Regions from separate parts of the Homo sapiens genome. Here all the other regions are linked to region 4. Evidence: promoter capture Hi-C in 16 types of primary human blood cells and fetal thymus (Javierre and others, 2016). All regions are on one chromosome and are shown on one strand. Each heading gives the region's core, a stretch centred on a gene start or on the middle of the fragment in contact. The rest is flanking DNA. Distances are from core to core; before and after follow the strand shown. Region 1 overlaps SH3PXD2A (SH3 and PX domains 2A). Region 2 overlaps SH3PXD2A (SH3 and PX domains 2A). Region 3 overlaps COL17A1 (collagen type XVII alpha 1 chain). Region 4 holds the start of SH3PXD2A (SH3 and PX domains 2A).

What was found. Contacts are between HindIII fragments. The CHiCAGO score rates a contact against its expected background, and 5 or more counts as called.
Region 1: a fragment that was not itself captured here is called in contact with the fragment with the promoter of SH3PXD2A in region 4 in 11 of 17 cell types (M0 macrophages, endothelial precursors, megakaryocytes and 8 more); the score reaches 12.7 in M0 macrophages.
Region 2: a fragment that was not itself captured here is called in contact with the fragment with the promoter of SH3PXD2A in region 4 in 9 of 17 cell types (M0 macrophages, endothelial precursors, activated CD4 T cells and 6 more); the score reaches 6.9 in M0 macrophages.
Region 3: a contact is called between a fragment that was not itself captured here and the fragment with the promoter of SH3PXD2A in region 4, in 1 of 17 cell types (naive CD8 T cells). The highest score is 5.3, in naive CD8 T cells.

Annotation. Positions count from the first base shown.
Region 1 is chr10:103,606,202-103,608,913 of GRCh38, forward strand. All of the region lies in intron 13 of SH3PXD2A (SH3 and PX domains 2A), which reads right to left. Among named protein-coding and RNA genes, the nearest start is that of NEURL1-AS1, 90 kb to the left of the region's middle. RefSeq lists an enhancer at 1,163-2,020. The HindIII fragment of the contact is 4,461 bases long and covers 1-2,712 here.
Region 2 is chr10:103,641,808-103,644,813 of GRCh38, forward strand. The region is part of intron 8 of SH3PXD2A (SH3 and PX domains 2A); the gene reads right to left. Among named protein-coding and RNA genes, the nearest start is that of SH3PXD2A-AS1, 100 kb to the right of the region's middle. The HindIII fragment of the contact is 942 bases long and covers 1,054-1,995 here.
Region 3 is chr10:104,059,558-104,062,411 of GRCh38, forward strand. It overlaps COL17A1 (collagen type XVII alpha 1 chain), which reads right to left. Exons shown (of 56, transcript NM_000494.4): 12 at 2,701-2,772; 13 at 1,848-1,916; 14 at 562-723; 15 at 81-161. Among named protein-coding and RNA genes, the nearest start is that of MIR936, 13 kb to the left of the region's middle. The HindIII fragment of the contact is 3,253 bases long and covers 1-2,854 here.
Region 4 is chr10:103,853,970-103,856,964 of GRCh38, forward strand. It overlaps SH3PXD2A (SH3 and PX domains 2A), which reads right to left and starts at 1,607. Exons shown (of 15, transcript NM_001394015.1): 1 at 1,226-1,607. The coding sequence starts at 1,297. The HindIII fragment of the contact is 2,015 bases long and covers 695-2,709 here.

The sequences.
Region 1 (2,712 bases), core at 132-2,631, 250 kb before region 4:
ATCATCATCATCATCATCATTACTCTGAGATAGGGTCTTGCTTTGGGACCCAGGCTAGAGTGCAGTGGAGTAATCAGAGCTCACTGCAGCCTCCATCTCCTGGGCTCAAGTGATCCTCCCACTTCAGCCTCCCCAGTAGCTGGGACTACAGGCACACACCACCACACCTGGTTAATTTTTTTTTTTTTTTTTGGTAGAGATGGGCTCTCTCAGGATCTGGAAGAATTTGCTAAAAAAAAAAAAAAAAAAAAAAAAAAAGCTCTCCCCCTCCCCCTCCCCTTCCCTCTCCCTCTCCCCACGGTCTCCCTCTCCCTCTCTTTCCACGGTCTCCCTCGGATGCCGAGCCGAAGCTGGACTGTACTGCTGCCATCTCTGCTCACTGCAACCTCCCTGCCTGATTCTCCTGCCTCAGCCTGCCGAGTGCCTGCGATTGCAGGCGCGCGCCGCCATGCCTGACTGGTTTTCGTGTTTTTTTGGTGGAGACGGGGTTTCGCTGTGTTGGCCGGGCTGGTCTCCAGCTCCTAACCGCGAGTGATCCGCCAGCCTCGGCCTCCCGAGGTGCCGGGATTGCAGACGGAGTCTCGTTCACTCAGTGCTCAATGGTGCCCAGGCTGGAGTGCAGCGGCGTGATCTCGGCTCCCTACAACCTCCACCTCCCAGCCGCCTGCCTTGGCCTCCCAAAGTGCGGAGAGTGCAGCCTCTGCCCGGCCGCCACCCCGTCTGGGAAGTGAGGAGCGTCTCTGCCTGGCCGCCCATCGTCTGGGATGTGAGGAGCCCCTCTGCCTGGCTGCTCAGTCTGGAAAGTGAGGAGCGTCTCTGCCCGGCCGCCATCCCATCTAGGAAGTGAGGAGCGCCTCTTCCCGGCCGCCATCCCATCTAGGAAGTGAGGAGCGTCTCTGCCCAGCCGCCCATCGTCTGAGATGTGGGGAGTGCCTCTGCCCTGCCGCCCCGTCTGGGATGTGAGGAGCGCCTCTCCCCGGCCGCGACCCCGTCTGGGAGGTGAGGAGCCTCTCTGCCCAGCCGCCCCGTCTGGGAAGTGAGGAGACTCTCCGCCTGGCAACCGCCCCGTCTGAGAAGTGAGGAGCCCCTCCGCCCGGCAGCCGCCCCGTCTGAGAAGTGAGGAGCCCCTCCGACCGGCAGCTGCCCCGTCTGGGAAGTGAGGAGCGTCTCCGCCCAGCAGCCACCCCGTCCGGGAGGGAGGTGGGGGTCAGCCCCCGCCAGGCCAGCCGCCCTGTCCGGGAGGTGAGGGGCGCCTCTGCCCAGCCGCCCCTACTGGGAGGTGAGGAGCCCCTCTGCCCGGCCAGCCGCCCCGTCCGGGAGGGAGGTGGGGGGGTCAGCCCCCTGCCCGGCCAGCCGCCCCGTCCGGGAGGTGAGGGGCGCCTCTGCCCGGCCGCCCCTACTGGGCAGTGAGGAGCCCCTCTGCCCGGCCACCACCCCGTCTGGGAGGTGTACCCAACAGCTCATTGAGAACGGGCCATGATGACAATGGCGGTTTTGTGGAATAGAAAGGGGGGAAAGGTGGGGAAAAGATTGAGAAATCGGATGGTTGCCGCGTCTGTGTAGAAAGAAGTAGACATGGGAGACTTTTCATTTTGTTCTGTACTAAGAAAAATTCTTCTGCCTTGGGATCCTGTTGATCTGTGACCTTACCCCCAACCCTGTGCTCTCTGAAACATGTGCTGTGTCCACTCAGGGTTAAATGGATTGAGGTCGGTGCAAGATGTGCTTTGTTAAACAGATGCTTGAAGGCAGCATGCTCGTTAAGAGTCATCACCACTCCCTAATCTCAAGTACCCAGGGACACAAACACTGCGGAAGGCCTCGGGGTCCTCTGCCTAGAAAAACCAGAGACCTTTGTTCACTTGTTTGTCTGCTGACCTTCCCTCCACTATTGTCCTATGACCCTGCCAAATCCCCCTCTGCGAGAAACACCCAAGAATGATCAATTTAAAAAAAAAAAAAAAAAAAAGAACACAGGACAGAGGCAGACCCACCAGCAGGGAGAACACCACGTGAAGCCTGGAGTCAGGCTTCCGGAGTCCCGGAAGCCGGGAGAGAGGCGGGGAACAGGTCCTCCTCCCACGCCTTCCCAGGGAACGAGGCCCTGTCGGCACCCTGATCTCCTCGCCCCTAGAACTGGGAGACAACACGTTTCTGCTGTTAAGCCACCCAGTGTGTGGTACTTTGTTACAGCAGCCCCCAAAAATAAAGACACCATTCCATGTCAAGAAAAAAAAAAAAAAAAAAAAGAAAAATTGTGTTGGGATTTAAATTAGAATTTCATCGAATTTACAGATTAGGGATAAAATTGAATAATACCGAGTCTTCTCATCCATAAATGTACCTTATTTCCATTCTGCCAGGCCTTCAATTCATTTTTGTGATTTTTCTTCATCAAAATATTGCACATTTTAATTAAATTATTCTATTCTTTAAAAAAAAAAAAAAAAGAGAAAAAAACTAGAGACAGGGTTTTGCCTGGTCTCAAACTCCTGGGCTCAAGCAATCCTCCTGCCTCAGCCTCCCAAAGTGCTGGAATTACAGGCATAAGCCACTGTGCCCAGCACAAAATGCTCATTATTAATGCAGTAATTTCTAATCTTACATCTCTGGAGGTCTAGTTTTCAGATGCCTCAATAGCTGAATCTCAAAATGAAAATTAAAAAGCAGAGAAATCTCCTGTAATCGTAGTGCTTTGGGAAGCCCAGGTGG
Region 2 (3,006 bases), core at 275-2,774, 210 kb before region 4:
GGGACACCCAGGCTGAAAGAGCGTTCTGGCACGAGATCTCACCCAAGGGCTTTGCCAGGCAAGAGTGACTCTGAATCTGCTTTCCCCAAACCTCAGGTATTTCCACACCACACACAACCTTTGCTATATCCTTGAATTACATATACTGTGGTTCATATAACATATACAGATGTGCCTTGACTTACAGTGGGGTTACGTTCCGATAAAGCCATCGTTAAGTTGACAATATCCCAAGTTCAAAATGTACTTAATACCCCCAATGACCCATCATAAAGCTGAAAAATTGTAAGTCACACCATCATAAGTCTGGAAATGGACTGTATATTTAAAGCAATTTGCCTTTTTTTTTTTTTTTTAACTTCAAGAAAGAAATTTGCTAAGGAAACTTCAGATTGCCACCATGAATAAACAACGAGGACCACTGGCTCCAACCAGAAAAGCACACACGATGAAAACAAAGCTATGTAGTACATTTGAACCGTGCCACAAATGAAGAGGCTGAGCCTGTGGCCCGCTCTTTCTTTGCTACACAGATTTGCTAGACAGGGGTTAAAGATCATCGAACATCAAACTGAGATAAGTCAGAAGGCTTGGAAGAGAACTGCAATGAGACAAACTTTTCCCACTGTGTGATGCAGAAGGATTGATATTGCCTCTCTGCCACCTAAGATCCTCCCCTGTATCATGGTGTTGGGTGGACTACAGCTTTAGGAAGCCAACGTCAGACTAGTGTGGTGCCTGGTCCTTCAGATTGGCTGAAGGAAGAGACTGAAGAATGAGGCTTAAGTTCTCATTGGTGAGATGGGAATATGAAACAGCATGTATTTACTACCAGTGTTGTGGGGAGAAAAAGAAAAGAAAAGAAAAGAATGGAAAGTGCCCAGAAATGTGCCTGGTGCTTAATAGATCTATTTGCAGCCTGGAGAAGAGAGCTGTGGTCACTTGAAATATAAAGATTATCCTTATCCATTTAACTGGCTTACTCCAGTGCCTAAGATGCGTACATGTACGAGTTTGTATATTTTTCCCCTTTCTCTCTTTGCTAAAAATGGAAGCTTCTTGGCCCCAGAATGGACTTGGTTTCAACTAAAAGCTGTAGGCTGACAACCATCCCCTCCCTCCCAGCTGAGTTCAGCCCCTCTTCAATTGGGCAAAAATAAAACGGGGACAATTTAGACTTTAAAGACCATCTCCATAAACAAAACAAACCCACTCCACAATTTGTCTAGGGCATTCCTCCCTCCAAAGCCTCCTTATTTAATTTCTGGGGAATTTTAAATAGAGGGCTTGCAAAAATCCAGTACCGCCTGACGTTAGCAGCTCTCTGACAACGTGGATTCTTCTACTTGGTGTGGGGAGCAGCCACCACGAATGCCGATGCTTTTCCAGGCTCCTTTCCCAGTTGGAATTTGGGAGCCACTGGTGTCACCCTAGGAGACAAGAGGCAGAGGGCACCCTAGGTGCCTAAGAGACAGAGTCCCACTTGGGGTCGTTTAACTCTGCATTCCCCAAGCCCTCCGGCCAGGTGAACCAATGAACCTGAGTAACACCTACACTAGTGTCATCTTAGTGTGTTTATTTAAGTTGACTTTATTTTTTAAAACTTAAACATGTATTTCAAAAAGACATTTTCCTATGCTACAGTGGATGGAAAACCAGCATTCCTAGGTATAGACGGGAGATTCCGGAAAAACACATACAATGAAACAATGCCATGAAGTTCAACAAGAGAGCAAGGCAAGTTCTAGCAAGATTCTAAGCCTGGGTCAGATTTGCTCTTGGTCAAACAAACAAATGACATCAGCCAGCGTCTGACAGATGTTAACAGCACAGGAGCCCCAAATGGAGATTCTCCCCTTGACCCAATGTGGAGTGAAAGAGAACTGAAAGGAAAGAAACTTCTCATGACGAGATTCAATGCCACTCAATGCTGTGTCCGCCCAGCACATGTTTGCACGACCCACTCTCGGGGAACCACTGATCTTCTTCAGGTGAAGCTTGGGGTAAAGAATCTGCAGACCAGGCCAGGCGCGGTGGCTCACGCCTGTAATCCCAGCACTTTGGGAGGCCGAGGCGGGCGGATCACGAGGTCAGGAGATCGAGACTATCCTGGCTAACAGGGTGAAACCCCATCTCTACTAAAAAATACAAAAAAAAATTAGCAGGGCGTGGTGGCCTCCACCTGTAGTCCCAGCTACTGGGGAGGCTGAGGTAAGAGAATGGTGTGAACCACGGACATGGAGCTTGCAGTGGGCTGAGATTGCACCACTGCACTCCAGCCTGGGCGACAGAGCGAGGCTCCATCCCAAAAAAAAAAAAAAAAAAAAAAAAAGAATCTGCCGAACCTTGGTTCAAATCCAAGCCTGGCCACAAGCAAGCTCTGAGGTCTCAACTGTTTCCTTTGAAAAATGGAAACAAAGCCACCTGCCCTACTTACCCTTAGAGAGTTACTCTGAGATAATAGATGAGAAAAATGCTTTGAAAAGGATAGGCCAGGTGCGGTGGCTCACACCTGTAATCCCAGCACTTTGGGAGGCCGAGGTGGGCAGATCGTTTGAGTCCAGGTGTTCAAGACCAGCCTGGAAAACATGGTGAAACCTTGTCTCTACTAAAAATGTAGTTTAAAAAATTTAGCGGGGCATAGTGGTACGCACCTGTGGTCCCAGCTACTCGGGGGCTGAGGTGGGAGGATCACTTGAGCCCAGGAGGTCATAGCTGCAATGAGCCGTGATCATGCCACTGTACTCTAGCCTGGGCGACAGAGTGAGACCAAGTCTCAAAAAAAAAAAAAAAAAAAGTCTCCAGGCTATAGGCTGGTGGGGGCAGAGGGGTTACTATTCTAAGCCATTTCAGAAACCCGACGGACTCCTAACTATCCCCAGTAGAACTTACTGCCTAAACTGGATGGTAGCCCATCCCTGTCCATCAGAGAAAAGGATAGGAGGGTGAATATGCCACTTGACAATTTTCTTTCACAGCTGGCCTTTCCCAATAGCCACATGGGTT
Region 3 (2,854 bases), core at 263-2,762, 210 kb after region 4:
GTAGCAAGGTCTCCGAAGACAATGAAATGAAATGTGGCCTGGCTGAAGTCAAGGTGGACAACAATCATATTTGTTCTTACCATTAGCTTCGGCTTTTAGGCCTGAGTCAGCATTGTAGGCAGCTTGCTTTTCTTTTTTTAGGGTGTCTTCTGAAAAAGAAGCTATGTACAGAACCCATTATAACCTGGCATATTCTCTTCTCAACCTCTCAACTCTGTCCTGTGTTCCCCCCGCCCTTGCCCACTACCCTGCTTGGGAAGGTCTAGGTTAGACTGGTAAGAAGAGCCCCTCTTTCCTGGGGTTCATCTCCCCTGATCTGTGTTTGCGGTTAGACTTGCTGTCGCCCAAATGCCTCTCTGAGAGCTCTTTGCCTGAATTTTCTCAGCTCATCTGCATTCAAGGCAGACCCTGGAACATACTATTCAGACAGGTGCTTTTCATTAGAATGGGATGGCTATGGTTTCATGACTCATAGGGTCCCAAACCACCTTGCTAGGACATTTGGTCTCCTACACTATTTGGCTTTCTTCTGAAACCCAAGCCACACAGGATCTGACGCACTTGCAGCGATGCTGGCAGGGGAGGCTGTAAAGACCTTCCCGCTGTCCTTGGTCATGATGAGCAGCTCCATCTCCTTCTTGGCAGGTGTGTTGTCTTTCTCTAGGATCAGGAACTTGCAGTCCTTGTGCAAAAGGTCATCGCTCTGCACACTTGTGGTGCAGGCTGGGGAGAAAGAAAATGGGTAAGAAGGAAGGACATGTGCCAGGAGAAGGGAGAGGGGAGAAAAGACAAGAAGAGGAAGGAGAAGAAAGAGAAGGAGGAGGGAGGTAAATTAGCAGGTGTGTATGAGGGTCTCTTGTTCTTGCTGACAGTGGTTACTATGAAGCATCTTGGGGACCAAGGACACCCTCTATGCCTGGCTGGGCCTGGCCACCAAGAGTTTGGGTCAATGTCAGAAGCTCTGGATGGCTGGTTTATGGGGGCTGCCTCCCCTCCTGGAGATTATAGGATCTTTATTGAATGGGTAAAAGTCCCCCAGTCAGGTAAGTCCTTCCTTAACTAACTTGGGTTCATTTTTATCCTCCAGGTCTTAAGAGTTGCCTTCTTGAGGAGGCTTTAGCTGACTACCCCATCTAAAGCACTTCACCCTCATACACACACTCCTATCTCTACCACATTACTTATTGCTTTCCTTATAATCTGTATCCTTTTCTGTAATTATCTTGCATACTTTATGTGTTTGTCGTCTGCCTCCACCACTGACATCAGCTTAGTGAAGGCAGGAATCTATCCTGTCGTGTTCACTGCTGTACTGTCAGCACTTAGAACACTGTCCATCTAATACAAAGAAGGTGCTCAGTAAAGGCTTTCCAATAAATGAATTGTTGAATGGAAGACAACACACTAGGATTAGAACAATGGAGGAAACAGCTCACTGTATGGTGCTGAAATATGTGGACAAAGTTGATATAGATTTTGTAGAAAGCAGGGAGGGTGCCAGCAGTTTCTGAGGGCTCCATGAGCTGCATGTAACAGGTGAAGGCCAAAGGCTTCCAGTCAAGGGCAGTGGCTAATGTGCAAGTGCCTGGCCCTAGGCAGGTATGGAGGGTGGAGCTTCCTGCCCCCTTCTGATAGGAACATTCATGGGAATGTTCACCTTTATTCACTCATGGAAACATCCAAGAGGCCTTTGGGGCAAGTTGCGTTTGCAGGCCTAAGACCACTCATGGGTCCTATTTCCTCTTCCAGTATACCATGTGTATTGGAAGGATACACAGGCAGGATTACTGCAGAGTAATCCTCCCTGTGCACCAGCCTGAACCCTGGCAGCTGGGAGCAGCACTCACCGGCGGAGGTGGAAACGCCAGTGTTCACAGCCGCAGGACTCTGGGGCATGTTTTTCTTCACCCCATATGCTGCAAGAAAGGAAGCTGGGTCAGCATGGGAGGGTGGTTCCAGGTGACTCAGGAGAAGCCTGATCAGCCCTGGCAGAGAGGTACCCCCGACCCTCTCCAGTGAGAAGCAGATGATGAATCAACTCTCTCCAGCCATGGGGACAGTAATGAGGGTTTAGATGGAACGTTCTTAGGTATAATCCTCCTCATCCTTCTAGCTACTTCCAGGAAGTCCTCCTAGACCCCCATGCATCTCCTTCTCTCCTGAACTCCTACAGCCCTTAACACCTGCTCTGCATGGCCTATCACTTATTCCCATTGTCTTATAGAGCCTCTCGTTGTCTCATGTGTGTTAGACTTTCTCTTCCAATTAAGTAGCAGGCAAGTTGGAGGCAAAGGCTGACCTAGGTTTCATGTCCCCAGTCACCCCCAGGTTGGCACAGCGGTGGCAACCTGTAGGGGGTGCACCATAAAATCAACCAGATGATTGATTTGCAGTGACAGTGGGCTGTCAAGGACAGCAGTGAGCTGGCAAGACCACCAACCTAACCAGTTTGGCTGTGAGAGACACAGGAACATACAAGTGATGCCTTACAAGGTGATGCTGTTGACAGGACAGCCTTCCCTGTGTGCTTGACTCATGTCTGAGCCAGTTAATGATCAAGATTGATATCTTGAGTGTTGTGTCTTTGGTGGGAAAGGTCGACTGATTTTCAGGGACATTTTGGGTCTCCTAATTCAGTGAGTTGTAGCTGCAAAGAGGTGTCACTTTCCAGCGCCTAAGCTCCAACCCTAGCCTACTGACCTGTGGAAGTGGTGGTGGTGCCATGGGACAGGGTGGTCAAGCTGGGGGCCAGATTGTTCTGCATGCCAAACACTGTGAAAGCAACCAAGGTCAGGTGAGTACAGGGAGCACGGGGGATGCCCCCTGGCTTAGGACGGCCCCCAGAGTCCCAAAC
Region 4 (2,995 bases), core at 357-2,856:
GGACTGGACCCGACAGGCACCCACCTCCCTGCCTAGTCAACCTGCCTCCACATTTACCTCCTCCCCATATGAGCCCAGCCGCATTTGCTCAGCTGTAAAGAAACTCAAAGTTCAGAGCTACACTGGTGACAAAGGCAAAAAGAGTAGCCCGAGGCTGACATTGCCACAAACCCCAGTCCCTTTGCAACAGTGGAAGAAAAGGCACTTCAGAGATCAATGTACAATCCAGGGCAGCAACCAGCGCCTGTTTTAACTGTTAAGATTAATGCTTTGAGCACTGGAACTGCTCCTCTAAATACCCAATTTGCAAATAACATGCAGTCCTCTGTGCTTGGGTCTCTTCTATCTCAAGTACAGGAGCACAGACGCTCAGAGGGGTCAAGGACACCGTGTTTACTTCCTAAGGTGTGAGGGATGGGAAGACAGGACCGGCTGAGATGAAAGGGGAACTGTCACATAGGCTCTGGAGCTGCCCCAGTCAACCTTAACCCCTTCTCATTAAAGTTTGGGGGAGGAAGGGGGAGGGGCGGTTCCTCGGAGACCACAGCAAACATTCGCCTCCTCGTGTCTGGAGATGGAGCATCACTTAAGAGGAAATGAACCCGGTTAAGGGTCACGTCCAGAGGAGGGATAAAAGGAAAAGCCACAATTCTCCTCACACCGACGGACACAATGGCTTTATGAGGGAAATCAAAGCTTAGCGCGGAGGGTGGAGGTTGGGCAAGGGGGCGGCGGCTTCCTTCTGCCCCCAGCCCCAGGCCTAGGAAGGCAGAGACAGAGCTGGCGTGGGAGGCAGGGCGCGAGGCTTCCTTCTCCAGGGCGAGCTCTGAAAGCATCTCGGGCTGTGTGAGCGTGAGCGCCCAGGGCCCCTGGGGAGGGCCGAGGAGATGCGCTTTCCCGACGGGGCTGCTCTGTGAGGGGTTGACGAAAGCTCCCCCCACCATCCATCAAAGGCGGACAGATGACTTCACCGTTGTAACAGACAAGGGCAGCCACTTGCCAATTCCAATGCCAAAAAAAGAAACCGGGGGGGCGGGGGTGCGAAGGAGGAAGGACAGAAGAGGCTTCCCTGGAGATCACAGCCCTGCGAAGAAACTCCACGGCTGCTGGCTGCCCAGTGGGCGCTTAGCTTCGCGACCTCACAGCTGGGAGGGGCAAGGGGCCATCCGGGGCCCTCCCGGGACCTCGGGCCACCCCCAGCAGGGTCGGCGGGGGCTGTACTCACGTAGTGCTTGGAGGGGTTCCTCCGCTTCTCCACGTCCACCACGGTGGCATCCTGCACGCAGTAGGCGAGCATCTTCCCCCACAAAGCGAGTGGCGCCCCCGGCGGCGTCACCTTCTCATCCCGGCCGGGCTCCGGCTCCTTCTCCAGCTGCCGGGGTCCCGGGGCCGCCCGCCACCCCGGCCCGGCGCGCCGAACGCTGCCCGGACTCCCGGCGCCCACAGGTCCGGCCCAGGGACGGGGGAGGGTCCCGGAGGGCGCGCGGGCTCCGTGCGCCCCGGGGGACTCCCCGCCGGCCTGCCGCGCGCCCCTTCACTCCCGCGCGGCCGCCGCGCTGCGCTCGCCCGCTCGCTCTCTCCGCCGCCCGGTGGGTCCGGCGGGAACTGGCGGAGCAGAGGAGGGGCGGGGGTGTGTCCCGTCGGCGAGGGGACGGGGCGGGGGCCCCGGAGCCTGCTGTCAGCGTCCTGGGGAGGGGCCGGCGGCTCCCCTTCGCCGCTCTCCGGCTCGGGCTCCGGGGGGATCGGCGCTGGCGGAGGCTGTGGGCGCAGGAGGCGGAGGCAGGGCCTGGCAGGCAGGGAAGGGAAGGGAGGGAGGGGAGAGAGGGGAAGCGCGCGGGGAGGGGCTCCGGGCCGGGGGAGGGGCTCGGGGCGACGGGGAGGGGGCTGCAGCCCGGCCCCAGTGGCAGGGGCGGGCCGACGAGCCCCCACCCGAGCCCAGCGCGCAGCCAGCGGCCTGGCGCAGCACCGGGCTAGTTCGCTAGGCACAAAAACTCAGGGTGGCTTCGGGGGGAGAGGGAGCGGGGAAAGTGAGCCCCGCGCGCCCCCATCCTGGCTTTCCGCCTCGGAGCGGATTTGTGCCTTTTTGTCCCCACTTTTATGTCCCCCTACAACTTCCACCCCCAGATCTCTTTAATGAGAAGTAGTTTATTACCCGGCTGTTACTGCCCAGGCCCCCGAGGAGGAGATGGGAATGGGGAAAAGGCCAGCTTTAAATCCTTCAAGCCAGAGCCTCTTTGGACGAACCACCTGACCCTCTGCAGGTCATAAAGGGTGAATTCTCCCCGGAAAAGTGATCGATTCGTTGCCTGAGTCGTCCATCGATCTGGGCTTGTGTAACTACCCTGTGCATCATTTACCAATGACAACGTTACAGACTCTGCATAACACCACTGCCTTAAGCCCAGGGCTCCCCTGGGGACCCTCCCCAAGCTGGCGACAGGGAAAGGAGCATACAATGGTGGGAAAACCCACCCGGTTGGAGGCCAGCTCACCGTGAGCCCCAGGCTCTGGCATTCTCACCCCTCCCTCTAGTCTGGAAAACCCACTTTCCAAGCCACTTGTCCGTGGTCCCTGGACTTGGAGCACAGTTACTACTTAATTCAATGTAGCTTCCCCCCTTCTAGTTCAACATTTTTTTCCCATTCTGCTTTCAAACATTTAAAGGGTAGTGTTTTCACAACTACTCCAGTTGTTACACAATCACAATAAAGCTTTGTGACTGTGGACCAATGTGAAACATCTGAAAAGAGGACAAATAATTTTGTGACCTAATTGCATTAATACTTTCTTCTGCGCGTTCTCTAGACTGTCAGAACCCAGGCACAGATCTAAGGCTTTATTTATTCACATATTTGCTCCATACAGAGTAACCCACTATTCCTCCAACCTTCCTGGGGAAGGGCGCTAGGACACCAAACGATGGCACGGGACAAAGAAAAAAAAAGATGGATGGGCCTAGGGGGCTCAGACTGTGAGAGATCTTGGCACCAGGCCA